Regions from separate parts of the Homo sapiens genome. Here all the other regions are linked to region 3. The links are contacts of gene promoters, found by promoter capture Hi-C in human tissues and cell types (Jung and others, 2019). All regions are on one chromosome and are shown on one strand. Each heading gives the region's core, a stretch centred on a gene start or on the middle of the fragment in contact. The rest is flanking DNA. Distances are from core to core; before and after follow the strand shown. Region 1 overlaps UBE2O (ubiquitin conjugating enzyme E2 O). Region 2 holds the start of RHBDF2 (rhomboid 5 homolog 2). Region 3 holds the start of MRPL38 (mitochondrial ribosomal protein L38). Region 4 overlaps MXRA7 (matrix remodeling associated 7).

Region 1 (4,981 bases), core at 1,218-3,717, 540 kb before region 3:
ACCATGCCCTCTTAACGGTATTTCCTTCCTTGGGGTTCTATTATACCAGACTATACCAAATGTTTCTCTTTTTTGCCTTTTGTCTTCTTCCTCTTACCCATAGATGTGCAGCTTTTCCAAAGACCTCTCTTTTCTTTATCTCTTCCTCCCCAGTTTTTTGGAGTGACCTCCCTGCTTGTAGCTGCATCTGGTACCTGTATTTAGGTGACTTCCACAGTGACATCACATGCCCAGCTGCTTACTTGATAGCTCCATTGTGCCATGTAGACTTTGTGGGTATAAAATCTTGTGATTGTGACTGCCCTTCCCATCCCCAAGTCTGTGGACTTAAAAAAAAAAAAAATGTTCTGACTGGGCACAGTGGCTCACGCCTGTAATCCCAGCATTTTGGGAGGCCGAGGTGGGTGGATCACTTGAGGTCAGGAGTTCGAGACCAGCCTGGCCAACATGGTGAAACCCCATCTCTACTAAAAATGCAAAAATTAGCCATGCGTGGTGGTGGGTGCCTGTGATCCCAGCTACTCGGGAGGCTAGGGCAGGAGAATTGCTTGAACCCAGGAGGCAGAGGTTGCAGTGAGCCGAGATCGTGCCCCGGCACTCCAGCCTGGGCGACAGAGTGAGACTCTTTCTCGAGGAAAAAAATATATATATATATTCCCCAACTTTTTTTGTTTTTGGTTCTGAACCCAAGACCCAACTTTTTAATAGGAAAAAATATTGACCATACCAAAATGTTGAAAGCCAGTAATTGCTAACCCCCAACCATTATGAGTCAGCAGTTGTTAACATCCTGCCATATTTGCCTTATCTGTATGCTTATGTAAATATATTTCCTCCTGAATTATGTCTGGTACTAACTCCTGCTAAGTTAGTGGCAGACATGATAGCACTTCACCCCTAAATACCTAAGCTTGAATCTTCTCAAAATTAGAGCATTTGGGGTCATTTTTAATTTACCTTCTTTGGCCCTCATTCTAACTTGTCATCAGTTCTTTGAGAGGCCTCTTGCATCCTGTGCCTGCATTTCCCTTTCACAACCCTGGTTTGCTCTCTGCTTGCCTCATGCCTGCACTGTGTAGCCTTCTCCCTGGTCTCCCTGCCTCTAGTCCTCCTTCAACCAGTGAACAGCGCTGCCGCCAACTGACCTCCAAAGGGCTGACCTCCCAAGTGATCGCCTGGATTGTGTCAGGACCCAGCCTCTGATCATGCCTTGGTTGTCATTCAGGGCCCCTCACCTACACATCCTGCTCTATCTCCTGCCTCTTCAGTTGATTCCAGCCAATCTGACTGCTTTTCCCCAACTCAATTGTGCCGTTCCCTTCCTCTCATGCCCCATGGCACACCCACATTCTCTCCTGGATGGGAAGCTCCTTGAGAAACAGAGACAGCAAATCCTAAAGCTTGTGTGCTATCACGCACATGCAGACTCTTGGGAAACATCTTCATGAATGACCAGTTTGCTCCCTCCCACTTACTACAAATAGTATTCTTAGTCTTCTTCCAGATGCCCTGTGGTCTGTGCTGGAGCTGTATGGGCCCCTTACTAGACCACTCTGTCTCCCACCCCCCGTACTAGGTGTGTTGACCATGTACAGTAATTTATTGCCCAAGTTGGGTTCTTTTGAGAGTACTATGAATAATTACTCCAGGACTGGGACGTATGGGCATCCTAATACTAGGAAGAGCAGATTAATCAGAATACACCATATTGTAGTTACTACTTTGGCAACTTCCGTCGCGGGCTCCCCAGGCAGACTACGTGCATTGTGGACTAGGCTAGAGCTAGCTAGAGCTGGTGTCACCTGTGGTCGAAATGAAGCTGCTTCTGGCTGCATTTCCCCTGTAAGAACCCCGCCTAAAGCACTTGACAAATGGCAGATTCCACACACGTGGGTTTCCTGAATGGTTATCAGCACCCAGTCCTCACCTTAGGAGGATGGCTAAGTACGAACGAGGCTCTCTATTGGAAAAAGAATGCCCCACCCGACTGCAAATGAATCAGGAACGCAGCTTAGGCTATGCACTCTGCCTGCACCAAGACCCTTGGGGGCGGGGCCTGGAGTTGCAGTGGCTATGCCAGGCCTATTACTTTGAAGGAGTCAGGAACCATCTATTGAAAGTAGATATAACCACCCCTGTTTATCAGTGGAGGGGGAGGGGGAAGTGAAGAGAGCATGAATAAATGGATTCTAATCCAGCACTTTTCCAAGGTGAATGCCACATGCCATCACCTAGGGTCTCCTAATGCAAATTGTCCTAATTCCATTGGGCTGAAGAATCTGCGTGTCTAACAAACTCCCAGTGACATTGATGCTGCTGGCTGGGACTGTCTTTTGAATTGCACTTATATGGGCCCTTCCAAACCTCGTTGATGTCAATGGGTTCAGTTTTAGTACGTCTTTGGTTCGAGGCTTTTTCTCTCCCCTCTGCTTATTCTTCTAGTGCCAGTGTTAATGAACCGGGAATTGTCCAAAGGTGGGCTGCAGGAGGGGCAGGAAAGGGATGAGGCGGACTCATCATCCGCCAGTGCTTTAGTGTTAGAAAGGCTTGCCTCTTTCTTCCTCCCCATTGCTTGCTGGTGGTTATTATTAATGCACTGCTGTTGCTAAGAAGTTTCATTTGATTTCATTTCATTTTAGGATGTAAATATGGTAGTTGTTTTGAGTATAACACACCCAATCCAAGAGGAGAATGATTATTCAGCATTTTAATGAAATTGCTGTCTTTTATCCAGCCAGTGTCAATGGATTCCTGCTGTGAGCCAGGCATGTTAACTCACACTTTACCTGTGTCATCTCACTTCCCTTAAAGTGGCCAGTGCCCCATTTTAGAAAAGGAAAGACTGAAACCCAGAGAAAGCTTATAACTCACCAAGGCCACATAGCAAGTGGGAGGCCAACCCAAATTCAAACTTAGGCCAGTTTGTGCTGCCCGAATGCAGGTTCTCTTCACTGACTACACGGGTGCCCCCTGCACTGTGCTGGGTGCTGTGGGGAGAGAGATACCCCCACACAGGCCCTGCCCTCTAGATAAGGGGCCAGCCAAACTTTCTGTAAAGGGCCAGATGATAAATGTCCTAGTGTTGCAGGCTATACTGTCTCCTTCACAACAACTCAGCTTTGCCATTATAGCACAAAAGCATTCAGAGGCAGTAAGCAAATGAATGGGCATGGTCATGTTCCAATAAAATTTTAAGAAACAGGCAGTAGGCTGGACATGACCTGCAGGCTGTAGTTTTCCCACCTCTGCTCTGGAAGGATCCTGAAAAATAGAGATACAATGTGAGCCACAGCTGAAAAAAGTAAATAGAGGCCAGGCATGGTGGCTCATGGCTATAATCCCAACACTTTGGGAGGCCAAGCCAGGCGGATCACTTGAGGCCAGGAGTTCGAGACCAGCCTGGGCAACATGATGAAACCCCATCTCTTCAAAAAGTACAGAAATCATCTTAGCGTGGCAGCTTACGCCTGTAGTCCCAACTACTCAGTAGGCTGAGGTGAGAGGATCGCTTGAGTCCTGGCGGTCGAGGTGGCAATGGGCCGTGATCGTGCGACCCATTGCCCTTAAGCCTAGGCAACAGAGCAAGACCCTGTCTCAAAGTAAAAAAAACAAAGAGATGAAATTAATTTTAATATATTTTACTTAACCCAATGTATTCAAAATATTATATCAACATATAACTCATATGATAAGTACTAATGAGAGACTGTGCGTTCTTTTTACCATAGTGGCTACTGGATTGGGTAGCACTGCTTCAGAGACTTAGATAGGAGAGAGAACCATCGCTGTGATCTCCTACTCAGCTTTTTTCCCTCATAGCACCTGGCATTACCTGAGATTATACTACTTCATGTCCTGTTTACTGTCCCCAGCCGGAAGGTAAGAGAAGCACAGAAGCATCTCTGTCACTGCTATATCCTCAGTGACTGGCCCAAAGTAGGTGCTAGGAGAGATTTGTTTAGTGAGCACTTGGGAAATGGCAGATTGCACACATGCGAATGAGTGGAATTAGTGGGTGAATGACTGATGCACATAAGGGAGCGAGAGCCTAGTTCCACCTGCAGGACACAGTTGAGATGCTGAAGGATGTGGTGGGGAGCATTAGGAGATGCTGTCATGGAGGTGCCTTTTGAGTTCACTCTTGAAAGATAAGAGCTTGGAATAGCAGCAGTGGAGGGCAGGGCGTCCTGGGCGGGAAGTCCAGTGCGCATAAAGGCAAGAGAGGCAGGAAGTTCATTTCAGTGGTTTCAGACTTAGGCCTCAGAACTCCTTTAACTTAAAAATTATTGAGGACCACAATAATTTTTTAGCTTTGTGAGCTTTTATTTGTATGGGTTGTTTCTATTAACATCTACCATTTAAGAAAACAAACTTAAAAACCAAGAATGCCTGGGCATACATTCTATTGGCCATCAGAGCAGTGACGTCATCACACATCATGTAGCCTCTGGAAAATTCCACTGCAGACTTTGGAGAGGATGAGAGGAAAAAAGGCAAATAACGTCTTGGTCTTGTTATAGAAAATTTTTGACTTTGGACCTCCTGAAAGGGTTTCAGGGATCCCTGGGCCATATTTTGAGGACCACTGAGCTAGAGGTGGGGTGGAAGAAGTCAGGTGAGAGAGTGCTGGCAGGCGAGGCTGCACAGGACTGTAAATAACGATAACAACAAAGGTTTGTTGGCACCTGCCGCGTTCTAGGCACAGTCACTGGAGAACCCCGTGAAGTAGGTGTTCTTACTTCACAGAGGAGGAGAGGTTAAGGCAGTGAGCAGAAAGGCTTGGGCTAAAGCCAGGCAAGCGCCTCCAAACCACGCCGTCAGCTGCCCCTGGAAAGGCCACTGGTGTCATGCTTGCTGTGTGTGTGCAGGTCTTTGGATGACTGACTCAGGAGTTGGGATTTGTTTTTTACATAAAGAGGACTTACATCAGAGTTTACAATGGGTGATTTGGCGGCAGTTTACAAGGTGGAATGTGGGGAGC
Region 2 (5,428 bases), core at 2,833-5,332, 600 kb before region 3:
TCTAAGGCAGTACTCACTGAGGACCAACGCTTCTCAATGTCAAACTCTGTCGCTGGTCTTAATTCCACAGCAGCCTCAGTGTCCTCATCTGTAAAGCCTGACCTGCCTATCTGCAGAATTGTTGTCAAGATTTAAAAAATAAAATAGGCTGGGCGCAGTGGCTCATGCCTGTAAACCCAGCACTGTGGGAGGCCGAGGCGGGAAGATCGCTTGAGTCCAGGAGTTCAAGACCAGCCTGGGCAACATAGTGAGACCTCCATCTCTACAAACAATAAAGCAAAATTAGCTGAGTGTGGTGGCCTGTAGTCCCAGCTACTCAGGAGGTTGAGGTGGGAGGATCACTTGAGCCCAGGAGGTTGAGGCTACAGTGATTCCCATTGTACCACTGCACTCCAGCCTGGATGACAGAGCAAGATAACGGCCTCAAAAAATAATAATAGGCCGGGCACAGTGGCTCACACCTGTAATCCCAGTGCTTTGGGAGGCTGAAGTGGGCAGATCACGAGGTCAGGAGATCGAGACCATCCTGGCCAATATGGTGAAACCCCATCTCTACTAAAAATACAAAAAAAAAGGCCAGGCACAGTGGCTCATACTTGTAATCCCAGCACTTTGGGAGACAGAGGCAGGAGGATCACCTGAGGTTGGGAGTTCGAGACCAGCCTGACCAACATGGAGAAACCCCATCTCTACTAAAAATATACAAAATTAGCCAGGTGTGGTGGTGCATGCCTGTAATCCCAGCTACTTGGGAGGCTGAGGCAGGAGAATCGCTTGAACCCGAGAGGTGGAGGTTGTGGTGAGCCGAGATTGCGCCATTGCACTCCAGCCTGGGCAACAAGAGAGAAACTCTGTCTCAAAAAAAAAAAATTAGTTGGATGTGGTGGCGCATGCCTGTAATCCCAGCTGCTCGGGAAACTGAGACACGAGAATCACTTGAACCCAGAAGGCCGAGGTTGCAGTGAGTGGAGATTGCGCCACTGCACTCCAGCCTGGCGACAGAGCGAGACTGCGGTTCAAAAATAAATAAATAATAATAATAAATGAAATAGTGTCTGTGAAAGCATGTTTTAAAGGAGGGGACACAAGCAGAAAATATGAGGGTGCAATTTCCTAGTTGAAGAATGCCTCATGGGCTCCCCCTTGCTTACAGAAGAAAGTAAAAACCCTTATCCAGACACACAGCAGCCTCCACCCTGAGCCCCCGCTGCCTCCCCAGGCTTCTCCTGTCCTCCTCCTCACACAGCCTGCGATGTAGCCAAGCCATAGCACCAGAAGCTTCCCCACCACAGCCAGTTTCCCGGCTGTGTCTTCGTTCTTGTTCTTCCCACTAGAAATCCCTTTCCTTATCCCAATCTGTGAAGATCTTCCCTACACCTGTAGGTCCATAAAAATAAAAAAGCTTAGACGGTGTTTTTCACTTATTCTTTCTTTTTCTTTTCCTTTTTTTTTTTTTTTTTTTTTTGAGACAGAGTTTCCCTCTTATTGCTTAGGCTGGAGTGCAATGGTGCAATCTCAGCTCACTGCAACCTCTGCCTCCCGGGTTCAAGCGATTCTCCTGCCTCAGCCTCCCGAGTAGCTGGGATTACAGGCATGTGCCACCACGCCTGGCTAATTTTGTATTTTTAGTAGAGATGGGGTTTCTCCATGTTGGCCAGGCTGGTCTCGAACTCCCGACCTCAGGTGATCTGCCCGCCTCGGCCTCCCAAAATGCTGGTATTACAGGAGTGAGCCACTGCGCCCGGCCAACAGTGTTTTTCTTTAAGTTATAAAAGTAAAATATGTAAAGTGTAATCCCACCGATTTTGGAGGCCAAAGCAGGATCACTTGAATCCAGGAGTTTGAGGCCAGCCTGAGCGACGTAGTGAGGCCCCCCCCCACCGCCCACCACCATCTCTACAAAAAAAAAATTTAGTTAGCCAGAAAGGATGGCGTGCACCTATAGTCCCAGCTACTCAGGAGGCTGAAGTGGGAGGATCACTTGAGCCCCAGAGGTCGAGGCTGCAATAAGCCATGAGTATACTGTACTCCAGCCTGGGTGACACCAAAACCTTGTCTCAAAACAAAAACAAAGAGTTTAGACAGTGTTTCTCTTTAAGTTATGTAAGTAATATATGCACATGATACAAAATGAAAAGCAAGTGACTCTCTCCCCCTAAACCCCTGCAGGGTTACTCCACAGATATCCTTCCAGAAAGTTTGTATGGATCTACCAACATATATATGTCTGTTCTATTTAAATTTAGGTAAATAGGATTATACTAAACATGCAGCTTGCTTTTTTTTTTTTAACTTACTATAAGTTGGAGATAATTCCTTTCTCAGTACATGGATAGCTGCCTCGTTGCTTTTAACAGCTGTGTGACATTATCACAAGTTATACCCCTGGCCTATTTAACATTCTTCCCTCTCTGGCCTCACAGGTGCGTGTTGCTGCAGCCAAGGCTGTAATCAGCCTCCCTGCACCTATGTGGCCGGGCAGCACGCCATGTTTGCATGGGACAAATCCCTGACACCAGCTTAAGCACCACCATGAATCCCTCCCCTCCTGGGGACTCCTGCAGAGCTTCCAGTAGAGCTCCAGGAGAGAGAACCCAGCTCAGGCATTTGCAGCAGTGTTTGTTAGAGTCTAAAGTCAGATCATGACCGAGTTTAAACCCCAGCTGCTCCCCTCACATCTCCCTCTGCCTCAGTTTTCTCATCCCTAAAATGGGGATGATCATAATGGTACCCACTTCATAGACCTGTACTGCGGATTATACAGACTAAAGCACTTTGGAATGGCTAGCTGCTCTCACCCTTCCTGTTACAGTATTGAGTTCCAACGTCTCCCTGTAGAATGCTGGCACTTCGTGGGCAGGCCCTGGTTTTGTTCCTCTCTGCACATAACCCCAGGATGTGCTGGTTGCACAATAAATGGTCCCTTACATTTGTTACTAGGAGCAACCCCCACCCCAGCTTTGGCCCACTCCCCCTCCTTCCAGCCTGTGCCCTCCTCATGGCCCCAGAGCTGGGGAGGAGAGATGCATCTCTCAGGATAATCTCCAGCAGCCAGGTGCTCCCCACCTCCACCCAGGTCAGCAATAAACACCAGAGTCCTTGGGTTGGGGGGCAGGGTGGCTCAGGAGCTCTCTAAGGGCCAGAGGTTTTGCCTTGGCCCTGACAACCCCACCCCCACCCCTCCAAGCCTGAGTCTCTTCAAACTCTGCTCCTCCTGGCCTAGCCAGGCCTCCTGGAGAGGGACGGCGAGATGATAAGCGCTGGGGCTGAGAACGGGGCATCCAGACCTTGGAGTTCGGTCCTAGCTGCCCTGGCCAAGGTTTTGTTTGTCTAGTCCCAAGAGGCAGGCCCTTGGAGTCCAGGGAAGAGAGAAGGAACCACCTGGGCAGACAGACCCAAGCCAAGGGGCCAGGTGTCGCCAGCGTCCCCAATCTCCAGTCTGGCTCTGGCCCGCATGGCAGCTGGAAGGGCCAGAGCTGGGTGGGTTCTGTCAATGCTTCTACGGGGTGTGTAGGGGGTTGGCAGGAGTCACAAATGTTGGCCTTAGCTGCAGGGCAAATGCAGATAGGACCTCCACGGAGTGCCTGTTCCCAACCCAAGGGCACAGCAGAGCTAGGAGAGAGGCCTCAGGGTCCAGGAGGGAGAGGAGGTGTTCAGGCCCAGCTTCCCGGAGAGAGTGTGACTACAGACTAAAAGGGTCAAGGGAACAGGCCCACTTGGCCTGAGGATGAGGGCGCTGGAAGAAGGGGATGGGAGATTGGGTGCTTTTTCTTGATGGGGAGGGGCGACTTGAAGACGGCAATCAAGACCTAGATGACGTGTTTGGTCTGGGGTGGAGTGAGGACGCCAAGAGGGAAAGGACGGCGCCCTGAAGAGACCAGCTCAGGCGAAAACAGGGCTCTGCCCAGGCGGGGACCCAGCTGGGTGGAGGGCGGAGGCAGGAACCCAGGAAGCCGACTGAGCAAAGACTGCGTCCAGGCCCCGCCCCCATGAGCCCGGCCACGCCCCCTGGAGCCCAGCCCCGCCTCCCGGCCGCCCGCGCGCAGGTAGGGAAGAGGCGGAGCGCCGCCGCCCCGCCCCCGAGGAGCCACCGCCCAGCCGCTCGCAGGCGCCGCACGGAGTTGCGTCCCGGGGACTTGGGGCCGCAGGGAGGTGAGCGCGGGGCGACGAGCGGGGCAGGACTCACGGCCGCCCAGCCGCAGGCGCCGGAAGGGTCCCGAGGTTGTGCCCGAGCCTGCCCTGGAGCGGTGGTGCGCGGCCAGGAAGGGTGCCCAGTGCCCGGTGCCCGCCCTGCGGAGCGCCTGGGTCCCACGTGGGCTCGGCTGGAGGCCCGGGCTGGCTCAGACGGCGCCGGCGGGGCCGCTGGACCCGGTCTGCTGGCCCCTAGGGCTCGGCTCGGACAGGACGCCTAAGGGGTCCCTGGGCGACGGGGCGCCAGATGTAGGGGCAAGACGATTGGGCAGAGATTTAAACCTCCGGAGGAAGAGAGGAGACTGCGCAGGGCAGTCCCGCCTGCGTCCCAGAAGTGCCTGCAGTTCAGACCCTTCTCTCCCCTCCACTTTCTCCCGGGTGAGCACCGGGCGGACCGGGGCCGAAGTTTGTTGGTTGAGCCAGCCAAGGTGGAAACAGGTGCGGGGGTGGGGATGAGGGACTCACACAGCAGGGCTGGACCGGAGCTCAGAAATTGGACCCAGGAGTCCTGACTTCTGGATGGAGGGGCTGGGGAAGGTTGGCCCTGGGCTTGCCTTTTACCTGTTTGGCCCCTCGGATGTTCCCCCAGGGCATTGGGATAGAGACGGATAAGTTCCCTAGGGTACAGACCCCGCCCCACTCCCACGCCAGGGCGCAAAGGAAGCCTAGGTTTTGGCCCTGCCCCATTCCATGAAAGATTAACGGAGGGGGCTCTAGGGTTGGAGCTACTGAGAGGGTGGCAGCGGGTGTGTCTGAGGAGCAGAAGGCGGTGGGGAGCTGACCCCACTTGGGGAGAGGCTGCTGTTGCCTGGGCGGCTGGCATCAGGCCCCCAGTGTGTGCCATTTGCTGGTAATATAATGAGACCAGCATCTGCCTTATTCGACCCTCACTGTCCGTAGGGCAGGCAGTGGAAAGGGAGGCGTGTTTTAGAGCTGTGGTTCTCAACCAGGGGCGACTTTGCCTGCCATGGGATATTTGGCAATGTTGGAGTCATTTTGGGTGTCACACACTTGGGAGGGGAAGTGAGTGTTGTTGTTACTGGCAGGTAGTGGGTAGAGGCCAGGGACGCTACCAGACATCTTCAGGGCACGGAACAGCCCACATAACGAGGAATTATCCAGCCCAAGGTGTTGGGCTGTGCTGAGGCTGAGAAACCCTGCGCAGCAGCTGGTCCATCAGGTTCCTTCTCAATGATGCTCCCTCACTGGGGAAACTACCTCAGTTTTCCAGAGTGGT
Region 3 (5,131 bases), core at 2,086-4,585:
ATAACCCAAGTGCTTCATTCAGTTCCTTTTAGAGAGAGAAATATTGCGGCCGGGCGCGGTGGCTCACGTCTGTAATCCCAGCATTTTGGCAGGCCAAGGTGGGTGGATTACCTGAGGTCAGGAGTTCGAGACCAGCCTGACCAACGTGGTGAAACCCCGTCTCTACTGAAAATACAAAAATTAGCCGGGCGTGGTGGCGTGTGGCCTGTAGTCCCAGCTACTTGGGAGGCTGAGGCAGGAGAATCGCTTGAACCCAGGAGGGAGAGGTTGCAGTGAGCCGAGATTGTGTCACTGCCCTTCAGCCTGGGTGACAGAGTGAGATTTTGTCTAAAAAAAAAAAAAAAGAAAAAAAAGAAAAAGAAATATTGGTGGAATGTAATGGGTAAAACATACTGGTGCAGGTGCCGGGCGCAGTGGCTCACGCCTGTAATCCCAGCACTTTGGGAGGCCGAGGCGGGCGGATCACGAGGTCAGGAGATCGAGACCATCCTGGCTAACACGGTGAAACCCCGTCTCTACTAAAAATACAAAAAATTAGCCGGGCGTGGTGGCGGGCGCCTGTAGTCCCAGCTACTTGGGAGGCTGAGGCAGGAAAATGGCATGAACCTGGGAAGCGGAGCTTGCAGTGAGCCGAGATCAGGCCACTACACTCCAGCCTGGGCGACAGAGCAAGACTCTGTCTCAAAAAAAAAAAAAAAAAAAAAAAAAAAAACTGGTGCAGTGGTACACACCTGTAGCTGCTATCAGGAGGCCAAGGTGGGAGGATGGCTTGAGCCCAGGAGTTCAAGACCAGCCTGGGCAACATAGTGAGACCCCCATATATTTTTTTAAAATGGTAGAGCCACTGCTTCTAGTTTCAAGATATTCATCGTTATTTGCTTCAAGTTGGTACACGTGGGAATCCACGTGAAGCCTCTCTCAAACTGTTAATATCCAAGCAAGCGCCAATCAGGGTTCTAGGACAGCAAGAGGACAAGAATGGAGGAATGCACCGCCACCTGGGTGGCCAGCAGCTTCCACGCCAACTGCCAAGGCCCCATACATCTTCATCTGGAGAGGGCTGGGAGGGTCGTGGGGTAGAGCGGGTGGGTTTAGAGGCTGAAGAAAATGATTCAGAAACAAAAGGACAAGGTGGCCGGGTGCAGTGGCTCACACCTGTAATCCCAGCACTTTGGGAGGCCGAGGTGGGTGGGTCACCTGAGGTCAGTAGTTTGAGACCAGCTTGGCCAATATGGTGAAACCAAGTCTCTACTAAAAATACAAAAAATTAGCCAGGCGTGGTGGTGCATGCCTGTAATCCCAGCTACTCGGGAGGCTGAGGCAGGAGAATCACTTGAACCTGGGAGGCGGAAGTTGCAGTGAGTCGAGGTCGTGCCCCTACACTCCAGCCTGGGCGACAGAAACTCCATCTCAAAAAAAAAAAAAAAAAGGACAAGGTAAAACAGCCACGATGTAAACACACAATCCAGTTATGCTCCTGTACTGCATAACTGCAGTATGGAATGTCACAATAAGCAACTCCTTACGAGCAGGACTGGGTGTGACTGCCCCACGTATTCCCCTCCACACTTAGCATGTAGCAGGTGCACACTGCTGGGTGGATTAGAAATGACTGTGAAAGGTTTAGCTGTTTGGCTGCTGTTTATGAAAACCAGTGGAAGGTGTGGCCACTTCCTGCTGGATGGAGAGACCCTCATTCCATTCTCATTCCATCTCAAAGTGATTGTGAGGGTCAAGCTTCTGCTGGTGCCAGAGCCACTGGCCTGGTCACCACCAGCCCTGGCCTGGGATGTCAGAGCAGGCTTCCTGGAGAGACCCCTCTCCTGGGGCTGGGTGGTGGCCAGGCCAAGGTGGGGCAGTGAGGAGGTGAGAGGCAGAAGACACAGCGTATACAAAGGCCCCGTGGCCTGGAGGCAAAGTGCGATGGAAAAGTCTTGCCTTTTAGGGCAGGAGGGCCAGGGCTGGGGCAAAGGAGGGTCCCAGATTCCCCAGGCTACCAAGTTTTGCCATGGTAGAACTGGATCACAAGGGCAAGCCTGAGTCCTGCCAGAAACATTCACATCTGCACTTAACCAGGTCACTTCTGCCTTTGTGTGGATAATGAGAAGTTGGAGATAGTTGAGCTAACACACAAACCACTGCGAGCGCTTTCCAGAGGGTAATCTTTTCATCCTGACAGCTGTCAGGTAAGCACTAGTGTTAACCTGCTTTTTCCCAAATGAGGAAACCACAAGGAAGACAGTAAGGTCACGATCTGGTTTTTTTTTGGGGGGGGGGAGGGGCATTTTGAGACGGTGTCTCACTCTGGCACCGAGGTGGTGGCGCAATCTCGTCTCACTGCAGCTTCTGCCTCCCGGGTTCAAGTTAATTCTTGTGCCATAGCCTCCTGAGTAGCTGGGATTACAGGCGCCTGCCACCACGCCCGGCTAATTTTTGTATCATTAGTAGAGATACAAAAATTTTTGTATCTTTAGGGTTTTGCCATGTTCGTAGGGCTGGTCTCAAACTAATTACCTCAGATGATCCGCCCACCTCGGCCTCCCAAAGTGCTGGGATTACAGGTATGAGCCACCGCGCCCAGCCACAATCTGGGTTTTTATTACTATTATTTTATTATTATTATTATTATTGAAATAGAGTTTTCACTTTTGTCGCCCATGCTGGAGTGCAGTGGCGCGATCTCGGCTCACTGCAGCCTCCGCCTCTGCCTCCCAGGTTCAAGCGAGTCTCCTCCCTCAGCCTCCCGAGTAGCTGGGATTACAGGCGTATGCCACGCCCGGCTAATTTTTGTATTTTGAGTAGAGACGGGTTTTCACCGTGTTGGCCAGGATGGTCTCGATCTCCTGACTTCGTGATCCACCCGCCTTGGCCTCCCAAAGTGCTGGGATTCCCGGCGTGAGCCACCGCGCCCAGCCCTCAATCTGGGTTTTAAACCCAAGCAGAGTCCGGAATCGGAGCTCGCACCCCTTCTCCCAACCAGGCCTGCGTCCCTGGGGAAATCAGGACGCAGCGTCCAGGGGTTGGAGGAGGGCCCCGGCGGCCGACCCCGGTCTGTGCCGCCCCCTGGTGGCCAGCCATGGGCGAGCATATGACTGCTCTCGGCTCCGCCCCGCCGTCCAACGGGCACTTCCGGAGCCGGGCGTCTACAGACCGCGGCCACCTTCCACCTGCGCCCGAGGCAGACGGTGCAGGGGCCTCCGGGACAGGCGTCTGAGGCCTGCTCCGCAGCGCGGGCCCGGGGGCGGGCCTAGGGGCGGGGCCTGCTGTGGTGCGCTCAGGCACCGCGCTGGCCACCTGTGCCCGGGTCCTAGTGGCGGCCGCAGTGTCGCAGGCCGGAGGGAAGATGGCGGCGCCCTGGTGGCGAGCCGCGCTGTGCGAGTGTCGGAGATGGCGGGGCTTCAGCACCTCGGGTGAGGGGTGGGCAGCTCTGCGGGGGGGGGGGGGGGGGCTGTCGCCCGAGCTGTGGGGCGCCGGCCTTACGTCTTCTCTCTGCCCGCAGCCGTCCTGGGCCGCCGGACACCCCCGCTGGGGCCGATGCCCAACAGTGACATCGACTTGAGCAACCTGGAGCGGCTGGAGAAGTACCGGAGCTTCGACCGCTACCGGCGCCGAGCAGAGCAGGAGGCGCAGGCCCCGCACTGGTGGCGGACCTACCGAGAGTATTTCGGGGAGAAGACAGGTGCGGGGCGACTGGAGCAGGGGCTGCAGCCACCGCCCGGGGAACTCGGGACCCGCCGGCGTTTTCCCCGGGCGCTGGGCGAGCCTTGCCGGCGCCCTTGTGGATGCTGGGGACGCTGGGAGGGCCTGCCTGCAGACCTGTGTGCGCTATCGGCAGCTTAATCACCCCAGGATTTTTCACACCTTCTGCACCTCATTCTTGGAAAATTCGCTCCCCCTACTATTAGAGTTCCAGCTCCTAAAATATTTGCTCCTAAAATCTTGACCACCTGACTTTCCGGATTGGGATGCCGTTCTGTGCGCCTCAAATACTCTGTAGGTAACTCTGGCCACACTGCATTCTGACTGTGCGCTGCCTCTCCCCAGATTGTAAGCGCCCTGTTGACAGGGATCCTGCTTGTCTTGCCCTCCATTGGATCCTTGCACCCGAACAGTGCAAGGATGTACATGTGCAATACTTTGCTGAATGAAATTAAAGGCCTGGGCAGGGTGACTCAAAAAAGAACCCAACCTGGCCGGGCGCGGTGGCTCACGCCTGTAATCCCAGCACTTTGGGAGGCCTAGGCGGGCGGATCACCTGAGGTCGGGAGTTCGAGACCAGCCTGACCAACATGGAGAAACCCCGTGTCTGCTAAAAATACAAAATTAACTGGGCGTGGTGTCGCATGCCTGTAATCCCAGCTACTCGGGAGGCCTCTGAGGCAGGAGAATCGCTTGAACCCAGGAGGCAGAGGTTGCGGTGAGCCGAGATCGCGCCATTGCACACCAGCCTGGGCAACAAGAGCGAAACTCCGTCTCAAAAAGAAAAAAAAAAAAAGACCCCAACCTTTAAGGAACTTACAATTTATGGAGTATATGCTTTTCTTTTCTTTTCTTTTCTTTAGCATTTATAGAGGCAGTTTTGTGGTGGTTAAAGGCACAAGCGTGGAATCTAAATAGCCCGATTTAAATCCTAGCTCAGCCTCTCGGATAATGTCCTTGAGCTTGTTTCAACTGTAAAATAAAATAATTGTGTCTTTGCTACAAAATTGCTGTGAGGATTAAAAGAGGCAATTCATTGGCATTTTTGCCTAATGCCATCTCTGATGAGGGCTCAGTATGTTTTCGTTATTATTATTTTGTTTTGTTTTGTTTTAAGGCAGAGGCTCGCTCTGTTGCCCAGGCTGGAGTGCAGTGGTGCGATGACTCACTGCAACCTCTGCCTCCTGGGTTCAAGCGATTTTCCTGCTTCTGCCTCCAAAGTAGCTGACACTACAGGCATGCGCCACCACGCCCAGCTAATTTTTGTATTTTTAGTAGAGATGGGGTTTCACCATATTGCCCAAGCTGGTCTGAAACTCCTGACCTCAAGTGATCCCCCTGCCTCAGCCTCCCAAAGTGTTGGGATTACAGGCGTGAGCCATAGCACCTGGCCGAGAAGCACTTCTATAAGTCCTTCTAGCATCAGTCATTC
Region 4 (5,227 bases), core at 148-2,647, 790 kb before region 3:
TGCCTGGCAAGCCCATCTCGGACCCAGCGTGGCTTTCTCATCCACTCTGAGGCCTTCTTTGCTCCCTGCAGACACAGCTGAGCTCCCTTTCCTCCAGGCCCCCACCGTGCACACTCCTGAAAACATAGCTGCAAATTTGATTGTGCCAAAGCGGAAGGAAAGATGGGCGTGCTATGAGGGAGGCACGAAGGTAAAATCCTTAGTGCCAGCTCTCTGTTGAGCACAGCCTTAGACGATGGAGCTCTGGTATTTCGCACAAGGTTTTGCTTTATCCCTTCCCATCCCGTTGCACACACACACACACACACACACACCTGAAGCTAAAGAGCCACCCCTTGCAGAAGGGTTTGTGTCTTTGTCTCCATTGCACTGTGTCTGAAACCGGCACTTCTTACTACTGGAGTCAGCACTTTCACTTTTCTGTTGTGTCCACACTTTTATAAAATCAGGGCAAAATGCAGTCAACACTGGTGGTTTTATTGTTTTATTTTGTTTTGTTTTGTTTTTGAGACGGAGTTTCGCTCTTGTTGCCCAGGCTGGAGTGCAATGGCTTGATCTTGGCTCACTGCAACCCCCACCTCCCGGGTTCAAGCGATTCTCCTGACTCAGCCTCCCAAGTAGCTGGGATTACAGGTGCCTGCCACCATGCCCAGCTAATTTTTTTTATTTTTTAGTAGACCCAGGGTTTCACTATGTTGTCCAGGCTGGTCTCGAACTGCTGACCTCAGGTGATCCACCCACCTCAGCCTCCCAAAGTGCTGGGATTACAGGCCCCCGGCCCCCGTTATTTTTTAAAAAAGTAAAACACCACAGCCAGAAGCAGGGAGGCTGAGGCAGGCAGATCCCTTGGGCCCAGGAGTTCAAGCCCAGCCTGGGCAACATGGCAAAACCTCATCTATACCAAAAATACACAAATTAGCCAAGCCTCGTGGCCCATGTCTGTAGTCCCAGGTACTAGGGAAGCTGTGGTAGGAGGATTGACGGAGCCTGGAAGGGCAAGGATGCAGTGAGCCGAGATCGCATCACTCTACCAACAGCCTGGGTGACAGTAAGACCCTGTCTCAATAATAACAATAATAATAATTGGAATTCATTCAATTATTATTAGTATATTCTTTAAAAGCCTAACAAGTTACCCAGATAAAAGTGAGGATGTTATTTCCAGTAGAAGCCCAGGTGTGAGGCCCTGGGATGCCTCTATGAGGTGCAGTTTGATAACCACTCAAAAAAACATTCCATGGCTATCCAACCCTTGACTTCAGCAGAGCTGAGATTTGATGCAGGCAAATTTGAGATGTTCTTGGCCTGCAAAGTCTGAGTGTGGTGAGTGGTGGACAGGAGAGGTGTCAGTGGATGGCGGACACCGTGGTCCAGGGGCTGTGGGAGTTGGAATGGAGCGGTTCTCAGGCAGGGAAAGGCAGGGTGGAATGGCCTCAGGACAAGCACATGGTAGGGGAGGGGGCTCTCCAACGAGTCTCTCCACCCGGGCCCACTCTAGGCAGCTCACTGCTCTGGTCCCAGAGGGTCCTTGTCCCCCAAGCAGAAATTGGGCTCCTGGGCCTATGCCCCCGCCCATCCAGATAAGTAGATGGAAGGGGGAGGGTTTGACCGCCCCAACTGGGGCCACGGGATTCAAGGGACAACTTCCAAAAGAACAGGGGATTTCTGCACAGACAACAAAATAAATGGCCAATTGAGCAGTGTTTTCAAGCTTTTTTTAATTAGGTGTCACAATAAGAAAGAAATTTTAAATTACATCCTGTATATAAAGTCACACAGCTACACCAGAAGTTTTTTGTTGTGTTGTTGTTTTGTTTTCTTTTGTTTGAGACAGGCTTTCACTCTTTCACCTAGGCTGGAGTGTAGTGGTGTGATCTCGGCTCACTGCAGCCTTGACCTCCTGGGCTCAAGTGATCCTCCCACCTCAGCCTCAGCTGGGACTACAGGCACATCCCACCATGCCCAGCTAATTTTTGTAATTTTTTTGTAGAAATGAGGTTTGACATGTTGCCCAGGGCGGTCTCAAACTCCTGGGCTCAAGCAGTCCACTTGCCTCAGCCTCCCAAAGTGCTGGGATTACAGGCGTGAGCCACCTCACCTGGCCCCAGAAGTTTTATAAACCAGTATCTAACTCTACCACACACAAAACACTGTTTGTCTTTAATTTCTTTTTCTTTTTTTTTTTTTTTTTTGAGACAGATCTCAAAAAAAAATCCAGTCTGTTGCCCAGGCTGGATTGCAGTGGCGTGATCTCAGCTCATTGCAACTTCCGCCTCCCAGGGTCCAACGATTCTCCTGCCTCAGCCTCCCAAGTAGCTGAAGCAGTCGTGCACCACCACACCCAACTAATTTTTGTATTTTTAGTAGAGACGGGATTTCCCCATGTTGGCCAGACTGGTCTCGAACTAATGACCTCGTGATCCATCCGCCTCGGCCTCCCAAAGTGCTGGGATTACAGGCATGAGCCACCGCGCCCAGCCTTGTCTTTTATTTCATTCTGGGATACAGGGGTGTCCCCAGAGTCTTAGTGCAGTTTTAATAAATAACTTCAGATGTTTAAATGTACAAACCTACAAAACATCAGTTGAATATTTACTTATTTAAATTTCTTTTCCACTTAGTTTCCTGACAGTCAAGTGCTAGATTTTTTCATTTTAATTCTCCGCATGTGCTAGTGTCTGGAGGGACAGGCAGGCAAAGGACCCCTTTCCTGGGCTGAATTGACCTCCCTTGAGGTCACGTGTGCACAAAATCCAGTTCTTTGGAACCTGGTGAAGCTGGAATCACCAGTGCAATCTTTTCCCGTCACTGACCAACAGTCGATAAAAGGTTTTTCGAAGTTTGAACAACTAGAGCCATGTATAGCACTAGAGGGGGTACTGTAAGAATCTGAGTGAGAGATATCAAGGTATTTTAAATGTAAATAACCTTTCAAATGTCATTTTTTGGTACATTTGTAGTATCTATACTTCTGAAGTTATTAAAGCCTCAAACTTCACCAAGACTTTGGTCGCCCATTTTTTTTTTTTTTTAACAATACTAGTAAGGCCTTCTCATTTGCTTTCCTGACCCATCAATGGGTCATGACCACAGCTTTTTAAAAATCAGACTTCCAGGCCGGGCGCGGTGGCCCACACCTGTAATCCCAGCAGTTTGGGAGGCCGAGACGGGCGGATCACCTGAGGTCGGGAGTTCGAGACCAGCCTGACCAACATGGAGAAACCCCATCTCTACTAAAAATACAAAATTAGCCAGGTGTGGTGGCACATGCCCATAGTCCCAGCTACTCGGGAGGCTGAGGCAGGAGAGTCGCTTGAACCTGGGAGGTGGAGGCTGCAGTGAGGCAAGATCGTACCATTGCACTCCAACCTGGGCAACAAGAGTGAAACTGTCTCAAAAAAAAAAAAAGAAAAAATCAGACTTCCAAAGTCAAGTACAATTTTTTTTTTCTTTTGGTGACAGGGTCTTACTCTTGCCCAGGCTGGAATGCAGTGGCACCCCCATGGCTTACTACAGCCTCAACCTCTTGGGCTCAAGCGACGCACCTGCCTCGGCCTCCCAATGTGCTGTGATTACAGGTGTGAGCCACTGTGCCTGGCCCAGAATCTAAATGTGTACCAGCCTCTCTGTGCTCAGGAGGGCTTGGGCACGTCAGCTGATACTGGGTCCTTTGGGGATACGGATCTGCCCTGGCTCATGGACTCCTCGCCCTGGAGTGCAATTATTTGTTTGTCTTTCCTACTGGACCACGAGCTCCGTAAGGCAGGGACTGTGCTCATTGTTGCTGTTGTTTTTCATTTAATCTTTGTGTCCTTTGCACATAATAGGAGAACTGGCCTCCTGTCTATTCTTGATATTGGGCTTAGTTCCGGGGCCGTGCCCTGAATAGGTCAGTGACTGTTTGCCTGTCATTAAAGAGAGACATCAACCATGAGAAAAACCAACTGTTTTTCTGTCCATGCACACAACACTCCACAGAACCCTTCACTTCTGATACCAAATATGCAGCCAGCCCCACCCCTGCAACCAACACCTTCTCCAGCCACCCAGACACCAAGTGGGTGTCCTCCCGTTCAACTCTGACATTAACTGCCTGGAATCAGTGCAGACCCCACAGGTTAGGGCCCAGTCCCACAGACTGCCCCCTACTTCAGGGGCCAATCACAAGTATCAGGTCCCCTCGTTCCCCACACTTTGGTCCTACTTGCCTACAAATCAAGGGTTCCATGAACCCCTCCTCAAGTTGAGTAATTTGCTACAGCGTCTTACGGAGCTCAGGGAAGCACTTATGTTAACTGGTTTATTAGAAAGGAAGTGATAAAGGCTACAGATGAACAGCCAGATGGAGGTACCTAAGTAGAGTAAGGTCCAGTAGGGTCCTGAATGCAGGAGCTTCCGTCCCCATGGAGTTGGGGTACGCTACCCCCTGCGCACGGGAATGCATTCAGCAGCCTGGAAGCTCTCCAAACCCTATCGGGATGTTGACGGAGGCCTCATCACATAGGCGTCATCGATTCTTAACTCAATCTCCAGCTCCTCTCCAGTCTCTGGAGGAAGCTGGGGGGTGGTGGGGCTGAAAGTTCCAAGCTCCTCATTGCAGCTTGATCTCTCTGGTGATCAGCCCACCCAGGAGTTACCTCATTAGAACAAAAGACACTCCTGTCACCCGGGAAATTCCAACGGACTTAGGAGCTCTGTGCCAGGGACTGGGATCAAAACCAAATGTTAGAACAAAACATGCTGCTAGCACCCCTGTAACTTAGGAAATTCAAGGGACTTAGGAGCTCAGTGTCAGGGCTGGGCATGGTGGCATGCACCTGTGATCCCAGCTATTCCAGAGGCTGAGGCAGGAGGATCGCTTGAGCCCTGGAGGTCAAGACTGCAGTGAGCCGTGATTGCACCACTGCACTCCAGTCTGGGCAACAGAGCAAGATCCTGTCTCAAAAAACAAACAAAATAAAAACTGTGTCAAGAACTGGGGGCCGAAACCAAATATATATATATTTAGGATGTTACATTCTTTCTACTTTTTTTTTTCCAAGTGATCCTTCTGCCTCAGCCTTCTAAGTAGGTGGGATCACAGGTGCGTGCCACCATGCACAGCTAATTTTTAAATTTTCAGTAGAGGCGAGGTGTGCACTATGTTGCCAGGCTGGTCTTGAACTTCTGGGCTCAAGCAGCCCTCCCACCTCAGCCTCCCAAAGTGCTGAGATTGCAGGCATGAGCC

Evidence for each region. The method cuts DNA at HindIII sites, captures the fragments that hold promoters and counts their contacts. A contact is called where the count stands out against the background at its distance.
Region 1: a fragment that was not itself captured here is called in contact with the fragment with the promoter of MRPL38 in region 3 in 4 of the 25 tissues and cell types used here (dorsolateral prefrontal cortex, lymphoblastoid cells, small bowel and 1 more).
Region 2: a contact is called between the fragment with the promoter of RHBDF2 here and the fragment with the promoter of MRPL38 in region 3, in 3 of the 25 tissues and cell types used here (adrenal gland, lymphoblastoid cells and spleen).
Region 4: a fragment that was not itself captured here is called in contact with the fragment with the promoter of MRPL38 in region 3 in 1 of the 25 tissues and cell types used here (spleen).

The regions. Positions count from the first base shown.
Region 1 is chr17:76,438,957-76,443,937 of GRCh38, reverse strand. The region is part of intron 1 of UBE2O (ubiquitin conjugating enzyme E2 O); the gene reads left to right. Among named protein-coding and RNA genes, the nearest start is that of UBE2O, 12 kb to the left of the region's middle. RefSeq lists enhancers at 826-945, 2,370-2,887. The HindIII fragment of the contact is 6,251 bases long and covers 1-4,981 here.
Region 2 is chr17:76,500,077-76,505,504 of GRCh38, reverse strand. It overlaps RHBDF2 (rhomboid 5 homolog 2), which reads left to right and starts at 4,082. Exons shown (of 19, transcript NM_001005498.4): 1 at 4,082-4,152. RefSeq lists enhancers at 3,665-3,804, 4,155-4,824 and a silencer at 3,855-4,494. The HindIII fragment of the contact is 32,589 bases long and covers 1-5,428 here.
Region 3 is chr17:75,903,088-75,908,218 of GRCh38, reverse strand. MRPL38 (mitochondrial ribosomal protein L38) reads left to right here and starts at 3,335. Exons shown (of 9, transcript NM_032478.4): 1 at 3,335-3,410; 2 at 3,500-3,679. The coding sequence starts at 3,344. RefSeq lists silencers at 2,930-3,409, 3,420-3,469, 3,490-3,539. The HindIII fragment of the contact is 5,940 bases long and covers 1-3,664 here.
Region 4 is chr17:76,690,441-76,695,667 of GRCh38, reverse strand. All of the region lies in intron 1 of MXRA7 (matrix remodeling associated 7), which reads left to right. Among named protein-coding and RNA genes, the nearest start is that of MXRA7, 18 kb to the left of the region's middle. The HindIII fragment of the contact is 7,367 bases long and covers 1-5,080 here.